Regions from separate parts of the Homo sapiens genome. Here regions 2, 3, 4, 5, 6 and 7 are each linked to region 1. The links are contacts of gene promoters, found by promoter capture Hi-C in blood cells and fetal thymus (Javierre and others, 2016). All regions are on one chromosome and are shown on one strand. The core of a region is centred on a gene start or on the middle of the fragment in contact, and the rest is flanking DNA. Distances in the headings are between cores, read along the strand shown.

Region 1 (4,147 bases), core at 1,230-3,729:
AAAATATATTTATACTGACCAGGCACTGCGGCTCACACCTGTAATCCCAGCACTTTGGAAGGCCAAGGTGGGAGGACTGCTTGAGCCCAGGAGTTGAGACCAGCCTGGGCAACAAAGCGAGACCCTGTCTCTACCAAAAAAAAAAAAAAAAAAAAATTAGCTGGGTAGGAGGCTGAAGTGGAAGGATCACTGGAGCCCAGAAGGTCAAGGATGCAGTGAGCCATGATTACACCACTGCCCTCCAGCCTGGGTGACAGAGTAAGACCCTGTCTCAAGGAAAAAAAAAAAAAAATTCTGTCATCCCAGCACTTTGGGAGGCAGACGCGGGTGGATCACCTGAGGTCAGGAGTTCAAGACCAGCCTGGCCAACATGGTGAAACTCCATCTCTACTAAAAATACAAAAATTAGCCAGATGTGGTGACACATACCTGTAACCCCAGGTACTCTGGAGGCTGAGGCAGGAGAATTGCTTGAAGCTGGGAAGCAGAAGTTGCAGTGAGCTGCTGCACTCTAGCCTGGGCAACAGAGTGAACTCTGTCTCAAAAAAAATAAATAAACTTACACCCTTTGACCCACTAATTCCTCTTCTGGGAAAATCTACGGAAATGGTCAAAAATTGTTTTAAAAGGGGTGCAGGGCCGGGTGCAGTGGCTCACACCCATAATCCCAACACTTTGGGACGCCAAGGTGGGTGAATCACTTGAGGTCAGGCGTACAAGACCGGCCTGGCCAACATGGTGAAACCCTGTCTCTGCTAAAAATACAAAAAAAAAGTTGCCAGGCATGGTCGTGGGCACCTGTAATCCCAGCTACTTGGGAGGCTGAGGCAGGAGAATAGCTTGAACCTGGGAGGCAGAGGTTGCAATGAGCCAAGATCGCACCATGGCACTCCAGCCTGGGCAACAAGAGCAAAACTCCGTATCAAAACATAAAAATAAAAAGGGGTGCAGGAGGGGGTTCATATTAAATCAGCCTCCTAAGTTAACTTTGGCAAAAGAAAAACAGCTTCTGGAGGCTTCATCTAAACCTAGTAGGATCTACCTGGGAAAGGGCTAGGCGATGTTCCAGGGAAGAATTGAGCAATAGGCCCCAACAGAAAGAGTGTACAGGAGCACTGACAGGCCTTTCCAGAGGATGATCTAACATCTCCCTCAGCCCTAACAGAGTAGGTTAGAAGTAGCCCCAGGGGAGAGAAAGCACTCCTAGCACCACAAACCATCACTAAATTTACATTTCACTCTCAAGTGTCAAAAGGAACTGTTACCTTTGGACCCTTGTCAAATGCGAATTTATGACATCTGAATCAATATTAGACAAATATAGAGCTGTTCAAATCTCCTCACTTTAAGACCCCATCCCTCCCCCAGTGCCTCCCTCATGGTTGTGAGTTGTGCCTGAATACTCTTCATCTGTAAGAGTTTCACTTCTGCACCTTCCCGTTGGTTAATTCGTTCAGCACAACGGTCCAGACTCACCCACCAGTCACGGACACACTGGGCAAGCCTGGTTTCAAGTCAGGGATCACCTCTCCAAAATGGGCCGCCCAGCTTATCTCTGAAGGCCAGCTGGATTCTCGCCTCAAAACCCAGGCGGTGGGTGGCAGTGTTTCAACTGCTCAGTCCAGCCAAACATCGAGAGTAGCCTGCGCACTCCCAGAAAGGCCACCTGCTTCCGACACGTGCCTTTGCTACCCATCAAGGCGAGGCATGCTAAGGCCCTAAAGAGCTCGACCAGGCATTCTGCGGGCAGAAGTTCCACAAGTTCCTGCACGCGCACATCCCCCATTTCATGTTAGTGGAGTATGCCCAAGTTCAGTTTTCCTGCTTCCACAAAGGAGAAAGAACCTACCATCACTCTTTCATGGGGCACGAGAATAAGCACATGGTTTTTACTGAGCGCCTATCATTTTGCTATCTATGGTCTAACGATACACTTGTGAAGGAAGAATTATTATTAAAATGACCCACAGAGATTTAATAAGTTGCCCAAAAGCTTATGTTAAGTGTTGAGCTGGCTAGAGACGAGCCAGATCCGTCTAAATCCCAAGGGTTAAACAGTATGAAAAAGCACACAGGTGCTTCTGCTGGTTATACCCGCCTCCACGAGAAACGCTACAGGTTTTCAAGGTGAACACCCTTGCTCCGGCCCCTCCAGGCACCGTGCGGATTGGCAGGGAGGCCTCGGACGCCGCAAGCCGGGCACGCAGTGATAGGTCGCGGACGCCAGGGGCGGGACTCACTTAGGCCCCTCAGGACTCACTCGCTTGTGCTGCGCGTCAATACGGCGTTGGCCCCCTCCCAGCAGCGCGGTCCGGCGCTTGTTTTCGATGCGTTCGTTAACAGAGGTGGCCTGGCTGCAAAGGCTGCGGACCGCGGCGCGGAGACCGCTCGCCAGAACGCTGAGCCTTGCCCCGACCGCCGCCACCCGTAATGCCGCCGCCATTTTTGCTGTGCCGGCGCGTCCCCTACCGGCGCACCTGAGTACGCATGTGCTAAAGCGTGGGTACGGCGCTTGCGCAGCATCGGCTGGCTGTAGGGAGCCGCGGGGGCTGGACTACAGAACCTGCTTGGGAGTAAGGCGTGAGAGTTCGAGACCCGGTGCTGCCCGAGGAGGGTCGCGCAGAGAAAAAGTACAGGGCCTGCCTGGCTGCACAAAAAAGGGACATAGTCCTTGCTCTTCTCTGACCACCTAGACCCTTAACTTTGTCGTCCCACTTCCTACAGAAAATGATTATAAGATTTAACCAACATTTATTAAGCATTGTGCCAGGTGTTGCTTTTTGCACTTACCATGCACTAGCTTACTATCTGGATTTCACAGATGAGGTAAATCAAGCACAGAGAGATGAGTGATTTGATCAAGAGGCAAGACTGAGGCCGAGGTAGGTGAGCCCAGGAGCCCAAGACCAGCCTGAGCAATATAGTAAGACCCCACCTCTACAAAAAAATTAAAAATTAGCTGGGCATGGCGGCTTGCACCTGTGACCCCAGCTACTCGGGAGGCTAAGGCGGCAGGATGGCTTGGCCCAGGAAGTCGAGGCTGCAGTGAGCCGTGATTGCATCACTGCACTCCAGCCTGGGCAAAACCCTGTCTCAAAAAAAAAAAAAAAAAAAAGCCAAGACTGACAATGTGGTTGGCCAGGATTCAAACTCAGAGACCTATCATTAATATGTGCCAGATAATGAGCACAGGACCCTTAACCTCTAATCAGTAGTTCTCAAAGTATGGATCCCATTAAAGAAAAAACTATTCATGACACTTAATTATTCATGTTTAAGAATGGTAAGGCAAACTTTATTCAGGCCCAATCTGACAGAGGTAGGGATAGAGTTTTGCCATAAGTCAGAGCGATTGGGCTGAATATAGCAAAGTGGTAATTTATAGCTAAGGGGCAGTGTGTGGAAGTCAGTGGATGGAAAATTACTAAGAGGAAACATTGGCGGGGAATCTGGCTAAATTGACCTAACAGGATTCCTGCCCAAGGCAGGTCAGGGTAACTGAACATCACCTGGGGGATGGTGGCGGTATGGGTCAAAACCAGATATGGAGAGTAATCAGATATCAAGAATGGAGGATTCTGGCTAAACTGACTTGGCAAGTTTCTTGCTAAAATGGAATTCCACAAGGAATGACATGGGAGCCCACACTCAGGCCTAGTCAAAGAGAGAGCTCAGAAGAGCCTGACCAATGTTTGATCAAGGAGGGAATCTTGTCAATCCAGCAACTTCAGTATCACCTGGGAGTGAGTTGGAAATGCAAGCTCGAATTCTCAGAACTTACTCCAGACCTTTAAATCAGAAACTCTGGGGCTGGGGCCAGCCATCTGTTTTAGCAGATGACCTTTAGGTGATTCTGATCTGCTTGCTAAAGTTTAAGAACCACTGCTCTAGGAATTTGGAATTGTACTGTTGAGAGCTTGACCATCTGTTTCTCCCACTAACAGGCAGGTCTTCAAGACAAAGAACATGGTTTATATTTCTCATTTTTAGCCACAGAAAACTGCTAAAGTTGATCATGAGCCCTTCCCAGATCCAGCTCATAGCCAGGGCCTTCATAAAGTACAAATTCTGACCTATGACCTTAATGTTAATGCAATTCAACTCAGAAAACATTTTTGAGCACCTACCATGTGCCAAGAACTAAACA
Region 2 (4,147 bases), core at 1,219-3,718, 770 kb before region 1:
TAAGAATGCAGGGCAGCCTGTAATCCCAGCACTGTGGGAGGCTGAGGCGGGCAGATCACTTGAAGCCAGGAGTTCGAGACCAGCCTGGCCAACATGGTGAAACCCGGTCTGTACTAAAAATACAAAAAAATTAGCCAGGCATAGTGGTGCACCTGTAATCCCAGCTACTCAGGAGGCTGAGGCAGGAGAATCGCTTGAACCTGTAACTGTGGAACATGTGTGTTTAGCCAATCCTTTCAGCATAAAGCTCCTATCCCAACCCCTCCTTCTTCAAAGTGCCTGTCTCTGGTCTTGGCCAGAGGCAGGCTTTCCAGCCTGTGGGATGGCCACCTTGCAAGCTGTAACCTTTTATAAGAAATTTAGAAAAGTCCTATTGAAAACTTTTTTTTGAGTCCGAATCTCATTTCTACATGTTGATCCAAAAGATCTCTCCTTTTCTAAATTTATAAATTTTGGCGTTTTTTAAATAAGTTAACAATATGAACTGTAAGTTTTCAGGGCATTTCAAAGTGTGCGTGTGTATGTGTGTGTGTGTGTATACTTGCATGTGTGTATATGTGTGTATTGATGTATAAGTGTGTTTATATATGTGTACATTTATATATGTATGTATTTATGTATGAGTGTGAATGTGTGTATATGTGTATGTGTGTATTTGTATGTGTGTATGTGTATGTGTGTATATGTATGTGTGTATGTGTGTATACGTATGTGTGTATGTATGTGTGTGAGTGTGTTCGTGCTCTGACTGAAGTTAAATACTTAAATACTCTTGGAATTAATGACACTTATTGCCCAGTTTGTCAGCTTTGTACAGGCTTATTATGAAGTTTGAGTTAATTTATTTCTTGAAAGAGAATTTTCTTTTTGATCAATGTTGTGGAAAAATTTTTTTTCAGCAGGACTTTTACTATTAACTTAACGATCCCCATGCACTAAGAAATGAGGGGGACTGACCACCAGCCAGCAGCCGGAATCCATCAAACTTCAATTCCTAAGCATCAGTGTTATGGGTCCTTCTAGTGCAAGAGTATAATCAGTTTCCCAATTTAATTGTGATATTTTATGTGGCATTGTGTGACTCAAAGTCGCAACTTACAGGGTCATTCCACTCATACTCCCCTTGAGCTATACAACTTCTTCTGACTGATGTATTTGTGTTTCCTAGTTTTTGTTTTCTTCATCTACACAACAGACGAATCACTAACACCAACATAATACCAACATGCCAACATGTAAATGACTTGGCAGATCCTCTTTTTTTTTTTTTTTGAGACAGAGTCTCACTCTGTCGCCCAGGCTGGAGTGCAGTGGCGTGATCTTGGCTCACTACAAGCTCTGCCTCCCAGGTTCACGCCTTTCTCCTGCCTCAGCCTCCCGGGTAGCCCACCACCACGCCCGGCTAATTTTTTGTATTTTTAGTAGAGACGGGGTTTCACCGTGTTAACCAAGATGGTCTCGATCTCCTGACGTCGTGATCTGCCCTCATCGGCCTCCCAAAGTGCTGGGATTACAGGTGTGAGCCACCGCGCCTGGCTGACAAATCCTCTGTTTTTTTCTCCATTTTCTCTTACTACTCGTAGTCTTTTGCTCCTTTTATGTATCATCTTGGACTCATGGCTTCTCCAATCCACCATATGCCCATTGGCTTCAGCCGATACTCTCCTTTTGACATTCAAGTTGCCTCAACTTTGGCCAGCAGAACCCCTTTTAGATGGCTCCTCTGTCCTTTTGACTCTACTAATTTATTCAAACTTTCTTGATTTCTGGCCTTGTTGTTCAGTGTTTAGGATTTCCTTGAATTTCCAGCTCAAAGTATGGAATATGCCATTCCTCCCAAGACGCTTTTGGTAAGAAGAGCATTAGAGACCAGAATGTGGGTGCCAAAGTGCATTGTGAGGTGACATGGCTCCTGGGCATTTCAATAGACAGAGAGACAAAGGATACGTATTTTTAATTTACTATTTTTGTTCTTTTAAAAGCTTGAATTTATCTTGATTTTTTCAGTCCAGTTCTAACAATAAAGTGTTCCTCATCAAATTATTTTTTTACTTTTTTCTTTTATTTTTAGCTGACACATAATAATTGTACATATTTATGGGATAGAGTGTTTTTCTTTAGAAATTTTAGTTTTATGAATTCCATTAAGGTATTTTTTGCTTGGTTTGAAACATCAGTGCCATTCTGGTTTTATTTTTTTTTAATTTTTTATTGATAAGTCATAGATGTACATATTTTCAGGGTACATGTGATAATTTAATACGTTCACCTCACTGGTAAAGATTAAATCAGTGTAATTGAAATATTCATCACCTACTCAAATTCTTGATTCTGCAATTGTAGTTCCTCTTCTCCTATGCTAAGAAGTCTAGATTTCTAACAAAATAAATGATCACTTATTTGTCTGGAAAAATTAGTTCTAAAATAATATTACAACATTAATGCAAATTTTCCAATTATCAAATACAGCTCAACTTTTCTAATAGTTCTTTTTTGTTTATTTTTAGACGGCATTCCACTAAGGATTTGCTAAAAATCTCTTTGCTCTAAACTCATTCATAACCTCTGACTCTTTGGCTCTGTATAGAGCTTTGGCTCATCTGTTCTCGTTTGTTTGCAGTTTGAGAGCCCTGGCATCAGAACAGCTGACAGACCAAAGCTCTAGAGGGGGGTGACTGGCAGCCACCAGGAAACAGGGGATCCTCCCTACCGTGAGGTGATAGAGGAGCCTCCAGCAGCGCAGTGGCCAATATTCTGCATGACGGTTGTGTTTCTCCATCTACAATGGTTTAATACATGGGTATAATCCAGATTGGCACACATGATTTCTGGCTGAATTAGCCAGTTTTGCCCCTGACATTTTATCTATCAAACCCATGTTACTTTCACAGGTTTAGGAGTTTGTTTGTTTTTTTCTTTTTCTTTTTAATTCTGTTCTTATCTTCCAAGCTTTTAATTTATCTTGCTCCTTTTTATGAGCTATAGGCTCTCCCTCCTTTTATAATATTCTACACCCCCTTACCAACCTAATATATCAGGTATGTGTTATTACATCAAGATTTTCAGTGAAAAATCAAAATGGTTCTCCCAATCAGTAGTTTCTTGACCCAGAACCAAAGTTTTTTATTTTCTCACAGGAGGATCAGATTCTTTATGATTAGCCAAGAATAGTAGCTATAAATGCAGTATCTTAAGATTTTGGCCCAAACTCTCTTTTGACTTATGAATAAAAATGTAGACTTTGCTTCATATATATTGCTGTCATCCTTATTTTAATTACAGACCAATAGAGTGTAGATTTCCAAATTCTCAGAAGTCTTTGGAAAACACAATTACCAACTACCTTAACTCTATAGAAAATTCAAACTTCCCAAGGTGAAATGAAAATGCCATAACAATACAACCAGATATACTTCAATAAAGTTTAAATTAAAAATACATAAGCATCCCTAACTCATTTTATGAGGCCAGCATCATCCTGATACCAAAGCCTGGCAGAGACACAATAAAAAGAAAAGAGAGAATTTTAGACCAATACCCCTGATGAACATCAGTGCAAAAATCCTCAATAAAATACTGGCAAACCGAATCCAGCAGCACATCAAAAAGCTTATCCACCACGATCAACTCAGCTTCATCCCTGGGATGCAAGGCTGGTTCAACATACGCAAATCAATAAACGTAATCCAGCATATAAACAGAACGAAAGACAAAAACCACATGATTATCTCAATACATGCAGAAAAGGCCTTTGACAAAATTCAACAATCCTTCATGCTAAAAATTCTCAATAAATTAGGTATTGATGGGATGTATCTCAAAATAATAAGAGCTATTTATGACAAACCCACACCCAATATCATACTGAATGGGCAAAAACTGGAAGCATTCCCTCTGAAAACTGGCACAAGACAGGGATGCCCTCTCTCACCACTCCTATTCAACATAGTGTTGAAAGTTCTGGCCAGGGCAATCAGGCAGGAGAAAGAAATAAAGGGTATTCAATTAGGAAAAGAGGAAGTCAAATTGTCCCTGTTTGCAGATGACATGATTGTATATCTAGAAAACCCCATTGTCTCAGCCCAAAATCTCCTTAAGCTGATAAGCAACTTCAGCAAAGTCTCAGGATACAAAATCAATGTGCAAA
Region 3 (4,147 bases), core at 1,046-3,545, 750 kb before region 1:
CACAATGAGATACCATCTCATACCAGTTAGAATGGCAATCATTAAAAAGTCAGGATACAACAGATGCTAGAGAGGATATGGAGAAATAGGAACACTTTTACACTGTTGGTGGGAGTGTAAATTAGTTCAACCATTGTGGAAGACAGTGTGGCAATTCCTCAAGGATCTAGAAATATAGTTACCATTTGACCCAGCAATCCCATTACCTGGTAGATACCCAAAGGATTATAAATCATGCTACTATAAAGACACATGCACACATAGGTTTATTGTGGCACTATTCACAATAGCAAAGACTTGGAACCAACCCAAATGTCCATCAATGATAGACTGGATTAAGAAAATGTGGCACATATATACCATGGAATACTATGCAGCCATAAAAAAGGACAAGTTCATGTCCTTTGCAGGGACATGGATGAAGCTGGAAACCATCATTCTCAGCAAACTATCACAAGGACGGAAAACCAAACACCGCATGTTCTCACTCATAGGTGGGAATTGAACAATGAGATCACTTGGACACAGTGCAGGGAACATCACACACCGGGGCCTGTCAGGAGGTGGACTTGGGGGAGGGATAGCATTAGGAGAAATACCTAGTGTAAATGATGAGTTGATGGGTGCAGCAAACCACCATGGCACATGTATACCTATGTTTCAAACCTGCAGGTTGTGCACATGTACCCTAGAACTTAAAGTATAATAATAATAATAATAAAAGATTATTACTTGGTGATATAAACTTTAATGGAAAAAATTCTTAATGTCATATTTCAGAGTGCAACCATCACCTACTATAAAATTTTAGACGTAGACATGAAATGTTTCGTCCATACAGATAAATTAAACACAAACTCAGTAGACCCTTTTGAAGAATTGTCAAGGATTTCTGATTGGTAATTTTCCATGGTTTAGTTGGAAAGATGAGTTGACTTTGCAAGGATGGCTAGAAATCACTTTTTAATAGTTTGGGGTAGTATCTGTAAGTAACACACATGTAGAAATGCAGCTAGGCTATGCTAAAGTCATAGCGGAGAGAGGGGAGGTGGCAGTATTGATTCACAGCTCAAGAATTTGTGCGGGATTCAATGGACGCTAGTGATCTGCTTCTCACACAGCACTGTGGGGAAATGCATAGACTCAGAGAATTTGTCCACTTTAAAAATCTTAGCGTGAAGTAAGGATAAAAGTTAAAAGCCTTACGGAAGGGAATGCACGTAGGAACAGACATCAGAATGATGTAGGAAGAATGGTAACAGAGAACAGGGAAGCAAAAGGTAGTCAAGGGTAGTGACGTCTATCTGCCATGGATGAAATTGGTCATACTGTCACAGAGTCTTCCAGTCTCTGGTCTCATCTAAGCTATTTCGTTTTCTCCAAAAGCTGATTTTAGGGTGTGGCTCATGATACATCAGGATTCCTAGGAGATCTTAGCTGTTGAGGACTCTTCTTGTGTACCTGAAATCCTGTAAGTTATTAACCCTTTACATGGTTCTTTCCCTGTCTCTTTACCCTGTTCCTCACTAACAAGGCACTGGGTCTTGGGAAGATCTTCATTCCCCTGATCTTGAGGTAGAGAGAAAAACTCTTCTGGCCCCCTGATAGAACTAGTAAAGAAAACATAAGAGAGAGTGTTAAGAGTGTAGTTGCCTGTAAGAGTAAGCATGGGCAGCAGAGTTCAGAGAGAAATCACAACAGAAGACCATCTGATGGAGCCCAGCTGAGGAAGGCTGAGCTTTTCACCACGTATGAGAAAGAAGAGCTATTGATATGCCTCAGCCAGAAATGCTCCCTACCATTACCATCGCTTTGGATTAGGTCAAGGGATTCCTCTTTTATTGCAGGTTTCTACTTCCACTTATGTCAGGAGAGCACCAATCAGACCAACACTCCTCAGATTACAACTTTTAAAACTGACCCAAATATTAAAAACAGATTCCTTAAATCATGGTAGAGCAACTAAAAGTTCATGCTTGGAAGAAGGGAATGTCACTGGGTGAGTTTCCCATTTTTCACAGCTCCTTGCCTAAAGGCAGGTCCCACTTGGTGCCATAGTCTTACTGTTTTTGAAAAGCCAAAAAACAGAGACTGGTGCAAACACAGAAGTTAGAAAGTAAGAGGAAAAATCCCAAAAAGGAGAGAGCCAGAAAAGGGGAGCTGCAATTCTGTACATAAATTCTGCCCAAATATCTGATTGACCTTTGAACTGTGTGAGGTACAGGTGTGGGGAAAGCTCCTACCAGTCTGTCTAAGGCTAAACAGTCTAATAGATATCAACTGCCTACTGCATAGGAGACCAAAGTTGAGTCTTTCTTCTAAACTAACTGCTTACTAAAGCAAATAAACAAACAAAAAAAATCAATAGTTTTCAGAGGAACATAACTGAATCCAAAATCTCTATAACATATTGTTGGCAATATCCAGACTGTAATCCAAAATCACTAGACATACAAAATATAGGAAAATGTGACCTACACCAAATAAAAAACGATCAATAGAGGCCAACCTTGACATGACCCACCTGGTGAAATTAGCAAAGATTTTAAAGTAAAGCAGACAAAGGTATTTATAATGATGCTCAAAGACAGAAGAAAATATTCTCATAATAAATGACCAAATAGAAAATCTCAGCAGAGAATATTTACTATAAAAAAGAAACAAATGGAAATTCTAGAATTTAAAAACACAATATCTGAAATTTAAATACAAAATTCACTAGACGTGCCTAAAATCAGACTGGTGATAACAGAAGAGTCAGTGAACAAGAAGATAGGTTAATAAAATTATTCAATCTGAAGAATAAAGAAGAGGAAAAGAAGTTTTTTATAAAAATGAATGGAGTCTCAGGTATCTATGGAGACAATATCTGAAGGTCTAATATAAATAAGATTGGACTCACAGAAGGAGAGAAGAGAATGAGACAAAAAAAAAAAAAATACCTGAAGAAATATGGGCTGGGAGCAGTGGCTCATATCTGTTAAGCCCAACACTTTGGGAGGCCAAGGCGGAAGGATATCACTTGAGCCCAGGAGTTCCAGACCAGCCTGGGAAACATAGGGAGAACCCCATCACTACAAAAAAATAAAATAATTAGCTGTGGCCAGGTGCAGTGGCTCATGCCTATAATCCCAGCACTTTGGGAGTCCAAAGCAGGAGGATTGCTTGAGCCAGGAGTTCAAGACCAACCTGGACAACATAGCAAGACCCTGTCTCTACATAAAATTTAAAAATTAGCTGGTTGCTCTGTCACATGCTTGTAGTCCCAACTACTCAAGAGGCTGAAGTGGGAGGATCACTTGAACCCAGAAGGTCGAGGCTGCAGTGAGCCATAATCATGCCACTGCACTCCAGCCTGAGTGGCAGAGTGAGACCCTGTCTCTAAAAAAATAAAAAGAAAAAAAAAGGCTGAAAATTTTCCAAATTGTAGCTTAAAAATATATACATGTACAGATTCAAGAAGCTCAGTATACTATAAGCAAGATAAATATAATGCAAACCCCATCTAGGCATGTTATAATTTAACTGGTGAAAGCCAATGGTAATTTAAAACCAGCAAGAGAAAAAGAACACATTTCACATAGGGGAATGATGTTAAAAAAATCATGGATGTTTTCTTATCAAAAACAATGTAAGCTAGAAGACAATTAAACAATACTTTTAAAGTAGTAAGAGCTGGGTGCAGTGGCTCTCGCACATGTCATCCCAGCACTTTGGGAGGCCAAGAAAGAGGATTGTTTAAGCCCAGGAGTTCCAGACTAGCCTGGGCAACATAGCAAGATGCCATCTTTATTAAAATAAAATGTTATTATTTTTGAAATATTATAATTAATATTTAAAATGAAAATATAGTAAGAAAAAATTGCCAACCAAGAATCCAGCAAAAATATCCTTCAAGAATGAAAGCAAAATAAAGACATTTTCAGATAAAAAAAATCAAAGAGAATTTGTCACTAGCAGATCTACATTACTAAACCTATAATTAAAAAAAGTCAAGAAGTTTTATAAAATGACAGGAAGCCCACACCAGATGGAAATAAAGATCTCAGAAAAGAAGAAAGAGTTCCAGAAATGGTAAATATGTGGGTAAATATAAAAGATTATTTTAAATACCTTAAAAATATATATGACTATATAAAGCAAAAAT
Region 4 (4,147 bases), core at 612-3,111, 710 kb before region 1:
ATCACATGGACACAGGAAGGGGAATATCACACTCTGGGGACTGTGGTGGGGTCGGGGGAGGGGGGAGGGATAGCATTAGGAGATATACCTAATGCTAGATGACACGTTAGTGGGTGCAGCGCACCAGCATGGCACATGTATACATATGTAACTAACCTGCACAATGTGCACATGTACCCTAAAACTTAGAGTATAATAAAAAAAAAAAATAAAAAAAAAAAAAAAGAACTAGTATCTAGAACACATAAAAAACTCTCAAAACTCAGCAGTAGAAAAATCAAACAATCCAATCTAAAAATAGGCAAAGGACATGAATAGACATTTCACCAAAGAGGATATATAGATGGCAAATAAGCACACTATTAGCTATTAGGGAAATCCAAATTAAAATCACAATGAGATAGCATTACACAGTTATCAGAATGGCTAAAAGTTTTCAAAGTTACAAAACTAAATGCTGGCAAGGATACAGAACAAGTGGATCACTTATACATTGTTGGTAGGAATGTAAAATGATACTCTTTTTCAAAATAGTTTGGCAGTTTCTTGTAAAACTAAACATGTAGTTACTATATGATCTAGCAATTACACTCTTCAGCATTTATCTCAGAGAAATGAAAACTTTACATCACATAAGACCTGCACACAAATATTCACAGTCAAGCTGGAATCGGCCCAGATGTCCTTCAACAGGTGAATGGTTAGATAAACTGTAGTACATTCATACCATGGAAGGGGGAAACAGATTCTCTAAAACCTCCAGAAGGAATGTAGTCCTGCCCATACCTTGATGTTAGCCCAGTGATATGATGAACAGATTAACTGTATTTTGAAATAATTTCAGACTTTCAGAAGAGTTGCAAAATAATACAGAGAGCTCTCATATACTCTTCACTCAGCCCTCCATATGTACATAACCATAGCACAATTATAAAAAATTAAGATATTAATATTAATGCAATATTATTAACTAAGCTTCAGTATTTAATCAGATTTCATCAGTTTTTCCCCTAATGCTTTTTTTTTTTTTTTTTTTGGCCAAAATCCAATTCAGGATTTTCATTTAGCTGTCATGTCTAGTTAGTCTCCTCCAAACTGTTTTCAGTCTGTCTTTGTCTTTTTTAATGACCTTGAGTTTTTTGTTTTTTTTTTGAGATGGAGTCTTGCTCTGTTGCCAGACTGGAGTGCAGTGGTGCAATCTCGGCTCGCTGCAACCTCTGCCTCCCAGGTTCAAGCGATTCTCCTGCCTCAGCCTCCCAAGTAGCTGGGACTACAGGCGCCCACCACCATACTTGGCTAATTTTTGTATTTTTAGTAAAGACGGGGTTTCACCATGTTGGCCAGGATGGTCTCGATCTCCTGACCTCGTGATCCACCTGCCCTGGCCTCCCAAAGTGCTGGGATTACAGGCATGAGCCACCACGCCTGGCCGACCTTGACATTTTTTAGAAGTACTGGCCAGTTGTTTTGTAGAACGTATCTCAGTTTGGTTTTGTCTGATATTTTCACGTGATTTGATTGAGGTTACACATTTTTTCCAGACACTCACAGGGAGTACATGATATCAATACGTCTTATTACTGGTGATGTTAACCACCCTGATCACTTGGTTAAGAAAGTGTCTCTACTGTAAAGCTACCATTTTCCCCTGTGTAGTTAATAAATACCTTGGGGGAGATACTTTGAGACTGTGCAAATATTCCATTCCTCCTCAAACTTTCACCTATTAATTTTAACATCTACTGATGGATATTTCTTGTAATAATTATTGCTGTGATGTTCTAGTAGTGATATTTTATTTAATTGTATTCTTTTGTTAGGAAGAGCTGTTCCTTCTCCACCATTTATTTATTCAATTATTTATTTTTAGTGGTATGGACTCATGGATATTTTAATTTATTCTGTAAAGTCCAACACTATTGTTATTTTATTATTCAAATTGTTCTAGCTTTTGGCCAATGGGAACACTTTCAAGCTGCCTGTGCCCTTTTAACTTGTTCCCACCCGTTTTACTCATGTTATTTTTATTAATAGATTTTTAAATTTTTGGAATAATTTTAGATTTACAGAATAATTGCAGAGATAGTACACAGCATTCCTATACATCCTTCACCCAACTTCCCTGAATGCTAACATCTTATGTAACCATAATACATTTGTCAAAACTAAAAAGCCAGTACTGGCACATTATCATTAACTAAACTCCAGACTTTATTTGAATTTCACTAGTTTTTCCACTCAGTTCTTTCTTCCATCCCAGGCTCCAATCCAGGATACTATGTTAATTGTTAACTTAGGCCCTCATCCTTTTTTAATCACTTCATTACTTACCACAAAATGCTCTTGTCTCATCTTGTTTTTTCCCTGCCCAGCCCTGGAATCAATCACTTCTCTAAGGAGCCCCACCCACATTGTTTTGAAAAAGTCCCAACATCCAGACAGCACCCTAGATTAACTCAGAATCTCTAGCTGTGAAGTCACGGAATTTAGCTTTTAAAAAGTTCCCCAGGTGATTCCAATGTGCATTTGAGGTTGGGAACCACAAATCTAGACTTTACTTCTGGTGGCTAAAGAATAGTTAAAATTTTGTTAAATTCCCACATGCCAAAGACTTTAGTGTACTTCCCAGCAGGCTCTTAGGCTCCCTGAAGACAAGTTTTTAAAATCTCTCTAACTAGCACACATCCCAGAACCTGGTACATAAATGGTGTTAAAAGAATGAAAGTTAAACAAGTAAATTAAGCTTTGGCTTCCTTGGGGAAATTAGCCTAGGTCTAACTCTTTTCTTAATCCCTCATTCGTCTTTAAATTAGACCCTTTCTGCTGCTGAACACCTATTTCGTAAAACCTTGAGTGAGTCAGTCCAAGGGAAGTAGCATGAAGGCTACCCACCAAAAAGCCCTGGGGCAACCTTTCCAGGCAAAAATCTTTGCATCTCTTCTCTGAAGGACGCTCAGTGGGCCTGATGTCCACTCCCTTTATTTGGATCCTCTTCTGCCACCTTTACCTCTATCAGCCTTTAAGGCTAATGCATTAGAAAAGGTAGCACCATCTTCTTTATTTCCTTTCCTTTGTCCCTCCTCCCTTCTTCTACCTTGTTTTAATGTCTCAGCTTTTTCTGCAGAGATATATAAAGGGCACAGGCTCTGGAGCAGACCAAACCATCATCAAATCCCAATTCCTGCACTTACTAGATATAGGTACTTGGACAAATAACTGAACCTCTCCTAGTCTCTATCCCTAATGTGTGGAATGGGGATAACACCTAACTTGCAGGATTCATGTGAGAAGTCAAGATAACATTTTTGCTAACTGAAGGCACAATGTGTACTCAGAAATAGCAGTTGTGATTGTCATTGTGATTATTACTATTGGTAGCATAATCAGCTTTCTGAATCACACACTATTATTTGGGAGGGACAGGACAAGGCAAATGATTTCTATGAAAGACAGCCATGGCCGGATGTGGTGGCTCATGCCTGTAATCCCAGCACTTTGGGAGGCCGAGGCGGGCAAATCACAAGGTCAAGAGATCGAGACCATCCTGGGCAACATGGTGAAACCTCATCTTTACTAAAAATACAAAAATTAGCTGGGCGTGGTGGCGTGTGCCTGTAGTCCCAGCTACTCAGGAGGCTGAGGCAGGAGAATCGCTTGAACCTGGGTGGTGGAGATTGCAGTGAGCCAAGATTGCGCCACTGCACTCCAGCCTGGCGACAGAACGAGACTCGGTCAAAAAAAAAAAAAAAAAAAAAAAAAAAAAAGCCACAACTCTACCCATCTGCCCAGTGATCTAGTAACTAATAGAAGTTCATTTAGAATTTGCAGAATTCATCACAGGCACCTACACAATCCAGAGGAAATGGTCAAAACTGCATAAAGACAACCTCAGCTAAAGCAATTATCTACTGATACCACCATCTGTATAACCAACAGATAATAATAACTAACATTTGAGGGTGGGGAAATGTTGAAGTCTTCAAAGCGCTTTTGTTTGTGTCATCTTATTTAACCCCTCATAACCTCAAAGTGGCTATTATGACCATTTCACAGGAAGGGAAACTGACGTTACATGATTGAGTCCTGAGCTAGTGAGTAACAGAGCCAAAACTCACACACAGGTCTTTCTGGCTATGACATCCTTGTG
Region 5 (4,147 bases), core at 917-3,416, 690 kb before region 1:
CACCAAAAATAGTAGAGTAAGGAACTCCAAGGCACTGTCCCTGCAAAAAGCAATGAATGCAATTAATGAGCTGGTAAATACTGTCAGACTCAACTTTTGCAGAACTCTGGAATCTAGTAAAAAAAAAAAACTTATAAAATCTAGGGCAAGGCTTGGTAAAGAAAGAAGTTGCTGCTTTGTGGTAAAGAGAGTGCTATCGCATCCTAAGTTGCCTGCCCACCATCCCCCACACCCCAAGTCAGTGATGGCTGTGTGGACAGTAACCTGCACTCCTAATGCCAGAGGAAGCAATACAGATCTCATTCTTAAACAATTGTGATTGTGGGTTTCAACTTGTCTGGCAGCTCCCTGAAGGACCTGAGCAATGGCTTGCCTTGGCTTTGCCTGACTTGAATCATTCCCAGGCATAGGGAGTCTTCCTGGGTGGTTTTTGCAAAAATCATTTAATGGATGCAGCAGCCTGGGGCAAGGGACAACAACTGGGACAAGGAACAGACAGATGGAAAAGCCTGGACAGAAAGGGGATGGGAAAGAATATACATGGGGTAATAAGGGGTGTGTATACCAATCAAGAAGGACGTGCACATGGCCAGGGCTGGATGCACATTCAGGAAAGGCCCAAGAAGACCCTAAGCTTTCACCCTGGCTGATCTTCAGGCTTTGAGCAAACAGTAAGCAAAGGCTAAGGCAGAATTATAAATGGCATCACTAAGTGGTCAAAAACTGCCCCAACATAAAGCCATCTGTAAAGATGGGGAGAGGTTTTCTTTTGTTTGTTTGTTTTTTCTTTTGGCTCCAGGTGTTTAACGAAACTCTGTTAAAACCCTAGCTGATTACTAAGCAAATGGAATAGACTTCAGCGGCCCCACATGACCAGGAATATAGAGCTTATAAAAGTAGTTTAGTAAAGTCACTAAACAAGCAAACAACAACCACTCACAATAAGCAGCAGTAATAAGCCCTGGGGAGGGGATAGAATCTGATCTGATGCTGAAAGCAAAAGAGCCAACAAAGAATTCTATATTTAGCAAAACTGTCCTTCAAAAATGAAGGAGAACATAAGACATTCCCAGATAAACAAAAACTAAAGGAATTCATCACTACCAGACCTGTGCTAAGAAATGCTAAAGAGAGGCTGGGCACAGGGGCTCACACCTGTAATCCCAGCACTTTGGGAGACAGCGGTGGGTGGATCACGAGGTCAGGAGATCGAAACCAGCCTGGCCAACATGGTGAAACCCCGTCTCTACTAAAAATACAAAAAATTAGCCGGGCGTGGTGGCACACGCTTGTAGTCCCAGCTACTCGGGAAGCTGAGGCAGGAGAATTGCTTGAACCCGGGAGGTGGAGGTTGTAGTGAGCCAAGACCGCACCACTGTACTCCAGCCTGGGAGACAGAGCAAGACTGTCTCAAAAAAGAAGTGCTAAAGAGAATCCTCCAGGCTAAAATGAAAAAACACTGGACAGTAATTTGAAGTCATATGAAGAAATAAAGAACAATGGTAAAGGTAGCTACATAAGTAAATATAAAAGTCAGTAGTATTGCAGTTTTTTTTTGTAAATTCTCCTTTTCTTTCCTACACAATTTAAAATACAAATGCATAAAACAAAAATTTCAATTCTAGGTTAATGGGCATATATTTTAATGTGTAAAGATGTAATATACAAAGATGGAGCTGCAAAGGAGCAGAGTTATGCATAGTACTGAAACTAAGTTGGTATTAATTCAAACATGATTGTTAAAAACCTAAGATGTTAATCCCCAGGGTAACCACTAAGGAAAAACAAAAATACAGAAAGAGAAACAAGAAGGGTAATAAAACAATATATTAGAGAAAATAGTCCAGTCACAGAGGCTCACACCTGTAATCCCAGCACTTTGGGAGGCCAAGGTGGGCGGATCACTTGAGGTCAGAAGTTCAAGATCAGCCTGGCCAACATGCTGAGACCTCGTCTCTACCAAAAAAATACCAAAAAATTAGCCAGGCATCGTGGCATGCACCTGTAGTCCCAGCTACTCGAGAGGCTGACATATAAGTGTCGCTTGAACCTGGGAGGCAGAGGTTGCAGTGAGCAGAGATTCCACCACTGCACTCCAGCCTGGGTGACAGAGTGAGACCCTGACCCCCACCCTCCAAAAAAAAAAAAAAAAAAGAAAAAGAAATCACAAAAGAAGACAGTAATAGAAGAATTGAAAGAAAAAAAAGTAAATGAAAACAGCAAAATAGCAGAAATCCTTCCTTATCAGATATAACTTTAAATGTAAATAGATTAAAAATAACATGATGCAACTGTTATCTGCAAGACACTCACTTTAGATCCAAACAAAGATGCAAATAGGTTTGAAAATGAAAGGATGGAAGAAGATATCCCATGTAAAGGATAACTGAGAGAGTGGGGTGGCTATATAAATATCACACAGCATAGGCCCGGCGCGGTGTCTCATGCCTGTAATCCCTGCACTTTAGGAAGCCGAGGCGGGTGGATCACTTGAGCTCAGGAGTTCAAGACTAGCCTGGCCAACATGGTGAAACTCCGTCTCTACCAAAAATACAAAAATTAGTTAGGCATGATGTCAGGTGCCTGTAATCCCAGCTACTCAGGAGGCTGAGACAGAAGAATCGCTTGAACCTGGGAGGCGGAGGTTGCAGTGAGCCGAGGTCACGCCACTGCACTCCAGCCTGGGCAACAGAGCGAGACTGTCTAAAAATAAATAAATATATATCACACAACACAGACTTAAAGACAAAGGACAGCATATATTGATAAAAGAATCAGTCCATCAAGAAGTGTAACAGTTACAAATATATGCATACCTAACAAGAGAGCCTCAAGGCATATAAAGCAAAAAATGACAGAATTGAGGGAGAAAAATAGTTCAATATACTTGGAGACATCAATACCCCACTTTCTGTAAGGGACAGAACTAAATGAAAAATCATTAAGGAAATAGAGGCCTTGAGCAGTACTATAAACCAACTAGACCTAATAGACATATAGAGAATATCCCATCAAACAAAAGCAGAATATATCACACATTTTTCTCAAGTATACATGGAATATTCTGCAAGATAGACCATATATTAGGACACAAAACAAGGCTCAATAGGCCAGGCACAGTGGCTCAAGCCTGTAATTCCAACACTTTGGGAGTCCAAGGTCGGGGGATCACTTGAGCCCAGGAGTCTGACGGCAGCCTGGGCAAGATGGTGAGACCTTGTCTCTACAAAAATAAAAAGTAAAATAAAATAATTAGCCAGGTGTGGTGGTGCATTCCTGTAGTTCCAGCTACTCAGGAGGCTGAGTTGGGAGGATTGCTTGAACCCAGGAGTTCAAAGGCTACAGTGAGCCATGATCATGCTACTGCACTCCAGCCTAGGTAACAAAGAGAGACCCTGTCTCTATTTTAAAAAAAAAAAAAAAAAAAAAAAGGCCTCAATAAATTTGAGATTGAAGTCATACAAAGTATCTTTTCTGACCACAATGGAATGAACCTAGAAATCAATAACAGAAAGGAAAACTGGAAAATTAACAAGTGTGTGGCAACTAACACTCTCTTAAACCAATAGGTCACCAAGAAATTTCACAAGATTAGACACTACTGTGAGACAAATGAAAATGAAAACACAACATACAAAAACCTATGGGAGGCAGCAAAGGCAATGCTCAGAGGGAAATTTATAGCCCTAAAAGCTTGCATAAAAAAGAAGAAAGATCTCGAATTACCAACTTAAATTTAATCTTAAGGAACTGGAAAAGAAAAACTAAACTCAAAGCAAAAAGAAGGAAATAATAAAAATCAGAGCAGAGATATACACAAAAGAGAACAGAAAAACAGAGGAAATCAACAAAACCAAAATGTGGTTATTTGAAAATATCAGTAAAATTGAAAACTCTTTAGCTAGACCAACAAGAGAGACACTCAAATAAATAAAATCAGAAATAACATTTCTACAGACCTTACAGATATTTTAAAAAGGATTATAAACAAATACTATGAACAACTGTATGCCAATAAATTAAAAAACCTAGAAGAAAAACATCAATTCCAAGAAACACACAAACTACCAAAGCTGACTCAGGAAAAAATAGAAAATCTGAACAGACATATAACAAGTAAAAGATTCAATCAGTAACAAAACATCTC
Region 6 (4,147 bases), core at 1,213-3,712, 670 kb before region 1:
CACTGAGATGTCACTACATACGCTTGTCAGAATGGCTAAGAGTGGTAATACCAAATGCTGACAAGGGTAAGTTGAAATTGGATCACACGTATACTGCTGATGAGAATGTAAAATGGTACAGATACTCCGCAAAATTGTCTGACAGTTTCTCATAAAACTAAACATGCAACTACCATACAAGCTAGCAACTGCACCCCTGGGTATTTATCCCAGAGAAATGAAAATTTATGTTCACATTTTACATGAATGTTAACAGCAACTTTATTTCTAACAGTCAAAAACCGGAAACCACCCAGATGTCCTTCAACAGGCAAATAATTAAACAAACTGGTACGTTCATACCAAAAAGAACAATTGATGCACAAAACGACCTGGATGAATCTCCAGGGAATTATAACTGCTCAGTGAAAAAAGCCAATCTCAAAGGTTAACTATATGACTCCATTTATATAACACTCTCAAAATGACAAAATATGGAAATTAGAAACAGATTAGTAGTTGCCAGGGTTAACGGGGCAGCAGGAACAGGAGGGAAGTAAGTATGACTATAAAAGGGCAATATGAAGAAATTTTGTAATATTATTGTGATATTGTACTATACTTCTGCCAGATGTATTGCCACTGGAGGAAAGCATACACTGGATCTCGCAATAAGTTCTAAAGTTTCTCAGAATTGCATGTGGATCTATAATGATCTCAAAATAAAAAGTTTAATTAAAATAAAAACTGAAAGAGAAAACACAAATAGTCAAAAAGTATTCAAAAGATCCTGAATATCTTTATAATTAAAGAAATGAAAACTAAACTGAAATACCACACTTTACCTATCAGGGTGACAAAAGTATTACCAATATTATCTAGTCCTCCCCAGAATGTACAAAAATAGCATTCTACTACATTACTGGTATAATAACTAAAAATTTATATAATGCTTTTAAGTTTTATAATTATGGCACTTTTCAACATTTACAGAAGAGAATAGTATAATGAATCCTATACCTATCACCCAATTTTATCAATATTATGCCTTGTGGTTCAGCTATCCCCCTAATTTTTGGTGGGGGAACTGGAATCCCATGATTTCATTAAGCACTAACAGATTAAAAACCCATACCCCTCAAAAATGAACAAATCAAGGGCTCCTGACCTTTTCCCTTTTTTAACCCATATATGCCGGAGGTTGCAATTTCTTGTGTGAAAAATCAGACCTTGGTGACGACCTTGAGCATGATATAAATAACTCTCACAAGCTTAGCGTTCCAATAATGGAACACTAGGCACAAATGGGTTAAGCCATGGACCTCCCCTCCTCCTGCCTAATGGCAGTGTGGTGAAACATAGAACCTCTACTCACAATGTTTCTGATGCATAAAAATATATAAGATTGCAAACAAGTCAATTATACTAAAATTAAATTATCAGTATATTTTCAAAAGCTCATTTTGAAAAGGTGTTCCTTTATTAAGAACTCCTGCAACACTTATTTCATCTAATGCTAATATTCAATTTTTGCTAAGTGTATTTTTTTAAACATTCTTACAGTTGGTGTGAACTGGGATCCAAACTAAGTCGATATATTGCACTTAAGCTAACATGTTTTAAGTCTCTGACACTGTTCTCTTTCCCCACTCTATGTCATTTATTTAAGAAGCTGGCTTCACTTGTCCTGTAGCATTTCCCACATCGTGAATTTGGCTAGTGTATATTTTCATGGTGTTCCTCTATCCCCCCTATCTCCTATAAACTGGTAATTATTTCTAGAGGCTTTACTTTTTCTAGGTTGTTTTGTCATTGTTGCAAGAATAATTCGTTAAGTATTCTTGTGTACTTGTTATTGCCATTTATTAGGAGGCACATTATGTCTGCCTGAACCATTTTCTGTGATGTTAAGACTGAATGGTAGATTTGTAGCACTGAACTGATTTATCCATTATTATAAAGTTCCCCCATCAAACCTCTACCCAATGGTTTTACCTGCCACTGATGATCACTGCCTAGATCAACTATTTCAATAATGATGATGTGCTAGCTCTACCTGCTTTCAGAAACTGTGATTATTCTCAAAGGAAAATTTTGCTTATTGTTCTATTACCCTAAAACATAAAACCTTACAGAAAAGGTAGAATATATACTTCTGTGTGGTTATGACACCAACTGGACGTAGAGTTAGGCTCACTTGTTTTCATTTTTTGAAGATCACTTTATTTTCCCTTTTTAAAATGTAATTGTTTCATAATTATGTAAAACATTTGGATGGTTCTAAAAGCTAAACTATCAAGCAAGGTAGATGTTTAAATATCAAACATGTTTGAACATTATGTTTAATATTGTTTATATGAATGTTTAAACATTAAATATGCTTAAATATCAAACATATTTAAAACATTTAGAGAGGTCTTCTTCCATACCTTCTCTTTTCTCTCCCCTCTCCCATCCACCCCACTGGACAGCCATTTATTTATTTATTTATTTATTTATTTATTTATTTGAGACGGAGTCTCGCACTGCACTGTCACCCAGGCTGGAGTGCAGTGGAGCGACCCTGGCTCACTGCAACCTCCGCCTCCCAGGTTCATGGCATTCTCCTGCCTCAGCCTCCGAGTAGCCGGGACTACAGGTGCCCGCCACCATGCCCGGCTAATTTTTTTGTATTTTTAGTGGAGACGGGGTTTCACTGTGTTAGCCAGGATGGTTTCGATCTCCTGACCTCGTGATCCGCCTGCCTCGGCCTCCCAAAGTGCTGGGATTACAGGCGTGAGCCACCGCGCCCGGCCTGGACAGCTATTTATTTGTTTTGGTTTATGTTTCTATTTTTTTTTAAATAATTTAAGGAAAGTATTCAAGAAAAATATATAAGAAAATTGAAAATTCTAATTTTTATCTACCCCCACAACAAAACATACACACACACATGCACACAGGCGCGCACACACACACACACATACACATAGGCATAGACTATATTGCCTGAATCTTTTCATTTTCAGTTTAACAATCTATCCTTAAGATCATTCCACAGCAGCACATGAGACTTCCTTTACTAATACATCTACTACTTCTAACAATTGCAGAGTGCGTCATCATTATGTAAGTAGCACTTTCTTCAACTAGACCTTACTGATGGTCAATGGGTTGTTTGTAATTTTCTGGGATTAAATAGTGCTGCAATGAACAGCCTCATACATGTGTCATTTTGATTTTCTGTTAGTGTACCTTTGGGTTAGAATCATAGAAGAATGCTGAGTTACAGCTAAAGTTTGTATAATTTTGTGAGATACTGCTAAATTCTGTATTCATAAACTATTTTTAAAAACTCCTAACAATATATCAGTGATTATTTCCCCACAGCCTTGCCAACAAACTATGTTGTCAATCTTTTGGATTTTTGCCAATCTAATAGGGGAGAAATAGTATTTCAGAGTTGTAATTTGTATTTCTCTTATTACAGTGATTTCTTTTCCCATATTTAAGGGACATTTACATTTGTTTTTCTGTGTAAAGTGCTTGTTCATATCTTTTCCCCATATCCTAGAATAATGACTCCAACTCCATCAAGTTCCTTACCTGAAAAGGCTCCACATGGCCAGAATTTACCGTTTGTTCCAGCCAAAACCTGGTGATAGGCAGATGGTCACCTGAACCCCCATTTAGAGCAGTTACCTTAGAAAGCTTGAAATTATAAATCCTTTCTCTGTCCCTTTGTGACTTAAATCTTCTACCATCAAGAACTATCTTCCCAAGGACCTGAGAACTACCTCTTTGGAATGCAAACAATCAAAAAGATAACTTTCACTTTTGTTCCCAGTCCCTGGCGAGAGGGTAAGGGCCAAACATTGGTGGGCCTAATTTGTACCACCACCTCCTGTCATAAATAATAAGTTTGTTTCTCTTCCAGATAAATGCCAATAACAAACCCAGATGGCCTACTCACATGGACCACCTATTGCCCTTAAAAACCACTCAGTGGCCGGGCGCGGTGGCTCACGCCTGTAATCCCAGCACTTTGGGAGGCCGAGGCAGGCAGATCACGAGGTCAGGAAACTAAGACCATCCTGGCCAACATGGTGAAACCCCGTCTCTACTAAAATACAATAAAATTAGCTGGGCGTGGTGGTGCGTGCCTGTAGTCCCAGCTACTCAGGAGACT
Region 7 (4,147 bases), core at 496-2,995, 640 kb before region 1:
GCCTGGATGGCAGAGGTTGCAGTGAGCTGTGATCAAGCACTGCACTACAGTCCAAGCAACAGAGCAAACCTTGCCTCAAAAAAGAAAAAAACAAAACAAACAACAAAAAAAACATTGAACTAAGTGAAAGAAAGCGGTTACAAAGGACCACATACTATATGATTCCATGTATATGAAAGGTTCAGAATGAGCAAATGTATAGAGACAGAAGGCAGATTAATGGTTTCCTAGGACACGGAGAGGGGAGGTTAGGGGTGACAACTAATGAGTATGGCATTGCTTTGGGAGGTGATTAAAGTGTTCCAATATGGCTGGGTGCGGTGGCTCGCGAGGTCAAGAGATCAAGACCATCCTGGCCAACATGGTGAAACCCCGTCTCTACTAAAAATACAAAAAATTAGCCGGGCATGGTGGCAAGCTTCTGTAGTCCCAGCTACTGCGGAGGCTGAGGCAGGAGAATCACTTAAACCTGGGAGGCAGAGGTTGCAGTCAGCCAAGATTTTGCCACTGCACTCCACCCTGGTGACACAGCGAGACTCCGTCTCAAAAAAAAAAAAAATTCTGATATTGTGGTGATGGTTGCACAACTCTGAATATACTAAAAGCTGAATTGTATACTTTTAATGAGTGAACTGTATAGTATGTGAATCATATCTCAATAAAACCTTTTTTTAAAAACCGACAAGACTAATGACTGAATGGAATCATAAAATAAAGCAAGGAGGGCCAGGCACGGTGGCTCACACCTGTAATCTCAGCACTTTGGGAGGCCGAGGCAGGCAGATCACGAGGTCAGGAGTTTGAGACCAGCCTGGCCAACATGGCGAAACCCTGTCTCTACTAAAAATACAAAAATTAGCCAGGCGTGCTGGCAGACGCCTGTAATCCCAGCAACTTGGGAGGCTGAGGCAGGAGAATAGCTTGAACCTAGGAGTCGGAGGTTACAGTGAGCAGAGATCATGCCATTGCACTCCAGCCTGGGCGACAAGAGCAAGACTCCATCTCAAAAGAAAAAAAAAAAAAGAAAGAAAGAAAGAAAGAAAAGAAACAATAAAGGCGATGAATAAAAGATAACAAGAACCGAAACATTACAGTTTGAATTCTTGCTCTGTCATTTATCATCAGTGTGTAACACTGAGCAAGTTATCTAACCTCTCTGCTTCAGTTAACACCTACCTACAGGGTTGCTGTGAGGATTTAACAAAATAGGTAAAACAGTACAGTGCCTGAGACACAGCTGTCTTTCCCTGTCCTCTTCTCCTACCTAATGCTAAAAATTCTACCACCAATTTTATGGAAACATAAATTCAATGACAGTTGTATCTGAATTGTATGCTAAAGAAGTTATGTCTGTTCCAGGTGACAAATAACTTAAAAGTCACCAATTATATGTAACTGGCAAGGCAACTTTCAACTAATTCACTGCAAGTCGATACTAAGGCACAGGAAAATATAAACTTTATCTCTCAACTTCTTTTTCTCCTTCTCGCCTTCATTTTTAAACACTTCTTTCCTCACCTTCCTGCCCTTTTAACTTATCCTTTATTCCAAACTACCAGTCTTACTTAGGCTGCTATTTATCAGGAGAAAAGGCAACAGTAACTTTTCCATTTTATGTTAAGATAGAAAAAAAATGCTGAGCATGGCGGTGCACTCCTGTAGTCCCCGCTACTCAAGAGGATAAGGTGGGAAGATCGTTTGAGGCCAAGAGTTGGAGGCCACACAGCATTATGATGGTGCCTGTGAACAGCCACTGTACTCCAGTCTGGAAAACACAGTGAAACCTCATTTCTAAAGAAATAAAACACAATATAAAAGATAGGGGCTGGGTGCAGTGGCTCACACCTGTAATCCCAGCACTTTGGGAGGCCAAAGCAGGTGGATCACCTGAGGTCAGGAGTTCGAGACCAGCCTGGCCAACATAATGAAACCCCGTCTCTACTAATAACACAAAAATTAGCCGGGCATGGTGGCACCTGCCTGTAGTCCCAGCTACTTGGGAGGCTGAGGCATAAGAATCGCTTGAACCTGGGAGGCGGAGGTTGCAGTGAGATGAGATTGTGCCATTGCATTCCAGCCTGGGCAATAAGAGCAAAACTCCGTCTCAGAAAAAAAGAAAAAGAAAGATAGGAAAAAAAAAAAAAAAAAAGACTGATCATGTAACTACAGGACAGTTCCAAACTCTGCCTAAGTAACTCATTAAAGTTCCCTAAACAAAAAATGAACGAACTTTAAAAACATGAGAATGAAAAGGCATACAAGAAAGTTTCCTTTGTGTTCACAGGTCTCTCATTTATCTGGAGACAAAACTGTATGACATCTACAGACTGTGACAGCAATTTCTTAGTACAGTTGGCCCTCTGTATCTATGGGTTCCGCATCTATGAATTCAACCAGCCGTGGATTTAAAACATTCAGGAAAAAAAAAAGCACCTGTACTAAACATATACAGACGTTTTTTCCTTGTCATTATTCCCTAAACAATATAGCATTAACTACCTAAATACCATTTACAATGTATTAGGTAATCTAGAGATGAGTTCGAGTATACAGGAGAATGTGCATAGGTTATATGTAAATAGTACCCCATTTTACACAAGAGACTCAAGCATCCTCAAATTTTGGTATCTGCAAGGAGTCTTGGAACCAACACCTCATGGATACCAAAGGACAAGTATATACTATCCATAACCAAGTTTTACTGCAAAAGAAAAAAAAAAGGATAACTATATACTACCTATAGCCAAGTTACTACCAAAAAATATATACTTTAAGTCAGGTGCTCTAAGAAATTAGTGTTAATACAATTTTATTAACCCATGCTTCCATCTTAAGTATTCCCTCATTTGACTTTAATGTTAAATGAAAATTTAGTTTCAAACTACTTTAAAGGACAATGTCTTTCAAAGGGGCACCTGCCTTATAAATGCTTCCGGAATAACATTCAGTAAAAGGATGTGGTTTAGAACAGATGAAATACCACTGTACTGCTGCTTTTGTACACGTTCAGATCAGAAAACTCCTATTAAAAACATGCCAAAATAAATAAATATTATGTCTATGGAAGCTTTTAAGTTAGCCATTCCAACTTTATAACATTCTAAAAAGAACATATCTCTTATGAAAGGTTGCTATAAAGAGCCCAGAACCTTTTCTCCCTCTACAAACCCCTTAACCTTGATGCCTAACTGTATTATCTCACTGTATTTCACTTCAGAAATATTTACTGGACAATGAGTGCACAGAGTAAGTATGCTAAGTAGTTTTAATACACTGTCATTAATCACCACAGCAAACTGATACAATCAGTATTAATATCACCATTTTTAACTGAAGAAACTAAGGCTTCAAAGGTTTAAGTACGCTGGGTGCTGTGGCTCACACCTGTAATTGCAGCACTTTCAGAGGCCAAGGTAGACGAATCACTTGAGCCCAGGAGTTGGAGGCCAGCCTGGGCAACATGGCAAAATCCTGTCTCTACAAAAAATTCAAAAATTAACCAGCCATGGTGGCATGCACCTATAGTTCCAGCTACGTAAGGAGCTGAAGAGTTATCAGGCCACTGTACTCCAGCCTAGGTGACAGAGCAAGACCCTGTCTCAAAAAAGTTAAGTAATGTGCCCTAGATTACAGCTGGAAAAGACAATTCCCTCCTTTTATAATTTCTATTATGTAAAATTTCAAACATACATTAAAGAAGAGAACAAACCCCTTAAACCCATCATGTAGCTAAAATCATCAACTCATGGCCACTTGTCCACGGCCACAATATCCATATTCTCACCCATTCCTGTTTCCTTGCTTAAGTATTTTGAAGCAAAAAACTTTTGTCTGTAAATATTTCGGTGTATACCTCTAAAAATTTATGTAAATATTTCAGTGTATACCTGAAAAAATATTTTCATCCATAAATATTTAAGTAAATATCTCTAAAACATAAGAACTTCAGCAGGCGCAGTGGCTCACACCTATAATCTCAACACTTTGGGAGGCCGAGGTGGGCAGATCACTTGAGGTCAGGAGTTCAAGACCAGCCTGACCAACGTGGTGAAAAACCATCTCTACTAAAAATACAAAAATTAGCCAGTTGTGGTGGCAGGTGCCTGTAATCCCAGCTACTTGGGAGGCTGAGGCAGGAGAATCCCTT

The links. Contacts are between HindIII fragments. The CHiCAGO score rates a contact against its expected background, and 5 or more counts as called.
Region 2: a contact is called between a fragment that was not itself captured here and the fragment with the promoter of PCCB in region 1, in 17 of 17 cell types (non-activated CD4 T cells, fetal thymus, total CD4 T cells and 14 more). The highest score is 18.1, in non-activated CD4 T cells.
Region 3: a contact is called between a fragment that was not itself captured here and the fragment with the promoter of PCCB in region 1, in 2 of 17 cell types (neutrophils and naive CD8 T cells). The highest score is 6.6, in neutrophils.
Region 4: a contact is called between a fragment that was not itself captured here and the fragment with the promoter of PCCB in region 1, in 6 of 17 cell types (fetal thymus, neutrophils, total CD8 T cells and 3 more). The highest score is 10.7, in fetal thymus.
Region 5: a contact is called between a fragment that was not itself captured here and the fragment with the promoter of PCCB in region 1, in 4 of 17 cell types (total CD8 T cells, naive CD8 T cells, total B cells and 1 more). The highest score is 7.7, in total CD8 T cells.
Region 6: a fragment that was not itself captured here is called in contact with the fragment with the promoter of PCCB in region 1 in 10 of 17 cell types (total CD4 T cells, non-activated CD4 T cells, naive CD8 T cells and 7 more); the score reaches 11.1 in total CD4 T cells.
Region 7: a fragment that was not itself captured here is called in contact with the fragment with the promoter of PCCB in region 1 in 11 of 17 cell types (non-activated CD4 T cells, neutrophils, naive CD8 T cells and 8 more); the score reaches 13.5 in non-activated CD4 T cells.

Annotation. Positions count from the first base shown.
Region 1 is chr3:136,248,672-136,252,818 of GRCh38, reverse strand. It overlaps PCCB (propionyl-CoA carboxylase subunit beta), which reads right to left and starts at 2,479. Exons shown (of 15, transcript NM_000532.5): 1 at 2,261-2,479. The coding sequence starts at 2,443. RefSeq lists enhancers at 2,005-2,054, 2,685-2,744, 1,974-2,840. The HindIII fragment of the contact is 10,493 bases long and covers 1,996-4,147 here.
Region 2 is chr3:137,019,026-137,023,172 of GRCh38, reverse strand. No RefSeq gene overlaps it. Among named protein-coding and RNA genes, the nearest start is that of IL20RB-AS1, 39 kb to the right of the region's middle. RefSeq lists an enhancer at 1-105. The HindIII fragment of the contact is 967 bases long and covers 1,985-2,951 here.
Region 3 is chr3:136,998,350-137,002,496 of GRCh38, reverse strand. The region is part of intron 6 of IL20RB (interleukin 20 receptor subunit beta); the gene reads right to left. Among named protein-coding and RNA genes, the nearest start is that of IL20RB-AS1, 18 kb to the right of the region's middle. The HindIII fragment of the contact is 6,892 bases long and covers 1-4,147 here.
Region 4 is chr3:136,959,756-136,963,902 of GRCh38, reverse strand. All of the region lies in intron 1 of IL20RB (interleukin 20 receptor subunit beta), which reads right to left. All of the region lies in intron 2 of IL20RB-AS1 (IL20RB antisense RNA 1), which reads left to right. Among named protein-coding and RNA genes, the nearest start is that of IL20RB, 3.8 kb to the right of the region's middle. The HindIII fragment of the contact is 1,768 bases long and covers 978-2,745 here.
Region 5 is chr3:136,939,124-136,943,270 of GRCh38, reverse strand. All of the region lies in intron 2 of NCK1 (NCK adaptor protein 1), which reads right to left. Among named protein-coding and RNA genes, the nearest start is that of IL20RB, 17 kb to the left of the region's middle. The HindIII fragment of the contact is 3,059 bases long and covers 637-3,695 here.
Region 6 is chr3:136,921,901-136,926,047 of GRCh38, reverse strand. The region is part of intron 1 of NCK1 (NCK adaptor protein 1); the gene reads right to left. Among named protein-coding and RNA genes, the nearest start is that of IL20RB, 34 kb to the left of the region's middle. The HindIII fragment of the contact is 2,419 bases long and covers 1,253-3,671 here.
Region 7 is chr3:136,884,820-136,888,966 of GRCh38, reverse strand. The region is part of intron 1 of NCK1 (NCK adaptor protein 1); the gene reads right to left. Among named protein-coding and RNA genes, the nearest start is that of NCK1, 25 kb to the right of the region's middle. The HindIII fragment of the contact is 2,649 bases long and covers 421-3,069 here.